Regions from separate parts of the Homo sapiens genome. Here region 1 is linked to region 2. Evidence: promoter capture Hi-C in 16 types of primary human blood cells and fetal thymus (Javierre and others, 2016). All regions are on one chromosome and are shown on one strand. Each heading gives the region's core, a stretch centred on a gene start or on the middle of the fragment in contact. The rest is flanking DNA. Distances are from core to core; before and after follow the strand shown.

Region 1 (2,700 bases), core at 116-2,615, 260 kb before region 2:
ATTAGAAAAAAATTATTACAGTAATTCCTACAAATTCACAGTGTGGGACATAATGCTTTACTTTCGATTTGCCTCATAGCTACATTCTAGATCTCAGCCATGTCCACTTCTAAGCCTTGATAACAGAAGACCTAAAAAGCCAGTCACTTGCTTAATAAACATTTTATGAAATTTAAGTCATTGACATCATAAAATTAAGGCAAGCAGAACAATCTTTATGAAATTTCAAACATGCTGCCAACTTACCATCCCGATCTAAATCATATTGATTGACATATTGGGTGCCACATCACTAGAGACATGGATCATGTGATCCCTCAGGCCAAGTATCTTTTTTTTTTTATATATTGGCTTACTTGATTTGTTTCCTTCCTTCCTTCCTTCTTTCTTTCTTTCTTCCTTTTTCTTTTTCAGCACATGCAGGTTTGTTTCATAGGTATACATGTGTCATGGTGGTTTGCTGCACCTATTGACCTGTCCTCTAAGTTCCCTCCCCTCACCCCCGACCCTACAACAGGCCCTGGTGTATGTTGTTCCCCTCTCCATGTCCATGTGTTCTCAATCTTCAACTCCCAATTATGAGTTAGAACAGGAGGTGTTTGGTTTTCTGTTCCTGTGTTAGTTTGGTGAAGATGATGGCTTCCAGTTTCATCTATGTCCCTGCAAAGGATATGATCTATTGTTTCCTGACTTTTTCTTTTCATAGCTGCATAGTTTTCCATGTGGTATATGTACCATGTTTTCTTTATCCAGTCTATCATTGATGGGCATTTGGGTTGGTTCCATGTCTTTCCTATTGTAAATAGTACTGCAATAAACATACGTGTGCATGTGTTTTTGCAGTAGAATGATTTATATTCCTTTGGGTATATACCCAGTAATGGGATTGCTGGGTCAAATGGTATTTCTGGTTCTAGATCCTTGAGGAATTACCATACTGTCTTCCACAATGGTCGAAGTAATTTACATTCCCACCAACAGTGTAAAAGCATTCCTATTTCTCCATAGCCTGGCCAGCGTCTATTGTTTCCTGACTTTTTACTAATCGCTGTTCTGACTGGCATGCGATGGTATCTCATTGTGGCTTTGATTTGCATGTGAATTAGCTTTTTAATGTGTGCTGCTAGGTTCAATTTGATATTATTTTGTTGAGGATATTGCATCTATGTTCACCAGGGATATTGGCCTGAAATTTTCCTTTTTCATGTGTCTCTGCCAGGTTTGGTATTGGAATGATGTTGGCCTCATAGAATTAGTTAAGGAGGAGTCCCTCCTCCTTGATTTTTTGGAATAATTTAACCCCAGCACTAGCACCCTCTCTTCTTTATATATCTGCTAAAATTCAGTTGTGAATATGTCTGGTCCAGGGATTTCTCTGGTTGGTAAGGTTTTTATTACTAACTCAACTTCAGAACTTGTTATTGGTCTGTTCAGGATTTCAATTTCTTCCTGGTTCAATCTTGGAAGGTTGTGTTTCCAGGAATTTATTCATTTATTTTAGGTTTCCTGGTTTGTGTGCATGGAGGTGTTCATAATAGTCTCTGAGGGTTTTTTGTATTTCTGTAGGATTTGTGGTAATGCTCCCTTTGTCATTTCTGATTATGTTTATTTGGATTCTCTCTCTCTTTTTTTGTTAATCTAGCCAAGAGTCTATAAATCTTATTAATTCTTTCAAAGAACAAATTTTTGGTTTCATTGACTTTTTCCATGAATCTTTGCATCTCAACTTCGTTCAGTTCAGCTTTGATTTTGGTTATTTCTTTTCTGCTACCTTTGGGGTTGGTTTGCTCTTATTTTTCAAGTACCTCTAGATGTGCTGTTAGATCATTAATTTGAGACCTTTCTAACTTCTTGATGTAGGCTTTTAGCACTATAAACTTTTATCTTAACACTGCTTTAGCTGTGTCCTGGAGGTTCTGGTATATTTATCTTTGTTTTCATGAGTTTCAAAGAATTTTTTTTATTTTTGCCCTAATTTCATTCTTTACCCAAAATCATTCAAGAACAGGTTGTTAAATTTCCATGTAATTGTATGGTTTTTGAGAGAACTTCTTGGCATAAATTTTTACTTTTATTGCATTGTGGTCTGAGAGTGTGATTAGTATGATTTTGGTTTTTTTGAATTTGTTGAGAATTGCTTTATAGCAGAGCATGTGGTCAACCTTGGAGTATGTGCTGTGTGCAGATGAAAAAATATATATAAATTCTCTTGTTGGGTGGAGTATTTTGTAGATGTCTCTCAGGGTCATTTGGTCAAATATCAAATTTCGGTACTGAATATCTTTGTAAGTTTTCTGTCCTAATGATTTGTCCAACACTGTCAATTTGTGTTGAAATTTCCACTATTATTGTGTGGTTATGTGTCTCTTCAAGGTCTACAGAAATTTGTTTTATGAATCTGGGTGCTTCAGTGTTGGGTGCATATACATTTAGGATTGTTAAGTCTTCTTGTTTAATTGAACCCTTTATCAATACATAATGCCCTTCTTTGTCCTTTTTGATCATTGTTGGTTTCAAGTCTGTTTTGCCTAAAATAAGAATAGCAACGCTTGCTTTTTTTTTCTTTTCTGTTTGCTTGATAGATCTTTCTCCATCTCTTCACTTTGAGCCTATGGGTGTCATTGCATATGAGACATGACTCTTGAAGACAGTATACAGTTGGGTCTTGCTTCTTTATCCAACTTGCCACTGTGTCTTTTA
Region 2 (2,700 bases), core at 151-2,650:
ATGTTTAAGATTTAAATAAACTGCTAAGGCAGGTACAAATTGGAATTCTAGCTATAGCAATGGTCATAAAAGAAACTTTCATCTAATCTCAATTCTAATGGGTGTACTTGTTTCCTAAAAGGCCTTAGCAGATATAGACATACATAACAGTATTTTGCCTAAAATTAGGTATAACATGCTTCCTGTAAAAAAAAAAAAAAAAAAGTAACTTAAAATTTTTCAACTTTTCTAAATGTTGTCTACAAGAGAATCATATTTTCAGCTAGGTAATTCAAGAAGAATACTTCTAATTGGAGAGGGAAAGGTGGATTAACTTTTTTCCATATGGAATAATGAATTTTTAACCTCTACTTTCTGTGATGGTCATATGGTAATTCCACATATACTCAAAGACTATGCGTGATGGTGGGGAAGTGGGCACAAGGTTGAGTGTAATGGTCAGAAAGGAAAAGTCTACACTCCTAACCTAAGGTATCCTGGTGCAATGTAAAGAGAAAAAAATCCAGGACTGAAATCACACAGCCTGCGTTTAAGGGATTCTGATGTGATCATCAGCAAATAACGTCTCCGGTTTCCCATACCTTGATTTCTTCAACTAGAAAATGGGAATGATGATTCTTTTAAAAATTTCTGCCTCAAAGGGCTGAGGATTAAGTGAACTATTTACCTGGAAAGCGCTTTGTAAACTTCAAAACCCTACACATGTGTTAGTATGTGTAATAAACTCCATATGAGAGGCCACTGGAATCAGCAAAGTTAATTAATTCCATTGCTGTCATGCTTCTCCTAGAAGATATTGTAACTGTGGGTGTACAGGTACATACGACTTGGCAAAGGGCCAAAATAAGGTTTTCTTCCCAAATGTTCTTTCTACAGGAAACACGAAAATAATTAGCCCAGATTCCCGAGTGAACTCATCAACATCCGTGGAGGTGGAGGGTGTTAAAATCGAGTTAAGGCAAAATTTACAAAAAAAAAATTAAAAAACAGTCAATTGCGGGACACTGAACGAAGAAGGAAGCCAAACTCGGGGAAGGGCTAGGGAGAGAGGAGGCGTGGCCCCAGCCCCGCTCCACGCCGCGCGCCTCCTCGCTCCCCATCCAGCGCGGCGACCACCGGGGTGGCGGCGACAGCGGCGCTTCTCAAACCTTTAGTCTCCCAAGAGCCGTTACGCGCCGCCCCTCTCAATCCCCACAAGTCTGGGCCCCTAACCTCCTAGCCCGTCACAGACTTCTCCGCGCAGCTACGCTGCAAGAGGCTCTCTTAGCTAGAAAGCAACCACTGGGCGGGTACCTGAGCCGAGATGAATCCCTCATACACGGTTTTCGACCGGTTCTGGGGCAGAAGCAGGGGGCACTGGCGCAACAGGCTCGCTTCCGTCACCGCCATGGCTCGAAGTCCGGAGAAACACAGAAAAGCTCTAGACCTGCTGGGTCCTGCACATGCGCAGTCCGCTGGCGCTCGGACGCCGCGGAGCGGAAACCCCAGCCTTGGCGGGAAGATCCTGGAGGATTCCGCGGGCGGAAATGAAGGTGAAGCGCAGGCCAGGCCAAGTGGCGCTCTGCGGGAGGCGACATCAGGGCTCCCCAACCGGTAGTGGGAGGGAAGATTGCCCTCAAGTCCACAGGACTGACTGACCAAGATCATTCTAGCCTCAATTGTCCCAGGAGCCCTTTCGATGATTCTGTTTTACTTTATTGAAAGACTGTTACAACTTTGGTGTTGCATTTCCTCCAGAATAAAATGACTTTTACAGCCTGGACGTTGTAGCACTCTGTCTTCTTTGCTGTTGTCCTCTCTCCCTTAACATACAGAATAATGTATTATTTTGTGTATAATTATTGTAATATAATGTATAACACATTGATTATATCATATATATTACAGTTCTGTGGCTTACTAAGTTCAATCAGATATATTTGAGGCACACACATGTATACGTATATGTGTATTGATTAGACTCAAGTCAACACTGGACTCAGTTCTGTGTACGGCACTCACAAATATATAAAGCAAAACATGAGTAAAGATTGCTGATGGACTTGAACTTAATTTTCCTCTGACAGCGCTTGCAATATGTTTTTCTAACTCAGGAATGTTATCCATCCCATCTTATTAAGAGTTGATTAAATAAGAAACCTACTAAAATATTTACCATATGATTATTTGATTTTCCAATTTTCCAATTTTCCAATGCATCACGTTTGAGCCCTACTATTTGAAAAACATCATTGTAATGTGCCAAAGGTTGAGCAAAGATTATTTCGTCCCCTACCCATCTTTATTGACCTCAAGACAGAATTTGACATCCTGAAGATTCTTAAAGTTTGACAAGAATTTGTCACAGCATTCTGGATGCTTACAGAAAAGAATGCTGGAGCAGTGGTTAGATATAAATTACATTAAAGCAGTGGTTCTCAAAACGTGATCCTAGAACCTAGCAACAGCATCACCTGGGAACTATGTAGAAATACAAGTTTTCACCGCTGATGGGGTTCAGGATATGCTACCCCAAAATATGGCCCCTTGACATTTGAGAAAACAACAAAACCTAAGATCACTCTCTGACCTTCTCCCATCCTTCTTCCCTGAGGCGGGTCATTGGATCCTCAATCCAGAGGTGCTCTTCCTATACCCACAGGAAAGAAATATCCTTATCTCTAAAGAAACGGAGACATAGAAAAGAATCTGAACAAAAAG

Evidence for each region. Contacts are between HindIII fragments. The CHiCAGO score rates a contact against its expected background, and 5 or more counts as called.
Region 1: a contact is called between a fragment that was not itself captured here and the fragment with the promoter of FANCL in region 2, in 4 of 17 cell types (monocytes, naive CD8 T cells, total CD4 T cells and 1 more). The highest score is 6.8, in monocytes.

What each region holds. Positions count from the first base shown.
Region 1 is chr2:57,978,305-57,981,004 of GRCh38, forward strand. It overlaps a transcript of VRK2 not described here. Among named protein-coding and RNA genes, the nearest start is that of VRK2, 67 kb to the right of the region's middle. RefSeq lists an enhancer at 778-1,385. The HindIII fragment of the contact is 3,252 bases long and covers 1-2,700 here.
Region 2 is chr2:58,239,925-58,242,624 of GRCh38, forward strand. FANCL (FA complementation group L) reads right to left here and starts at 1,401. Exons shown (of 14, transcript NM_018062.4): 1 at 1,294-1,401. The coding sequence starts at 1,389. RefSeq lists a silencer at 999-1,048 and an enhancer at 1,589-1,748. The HindIII fragment of the contact is 7,787 bases long and covers 1-2,700 here.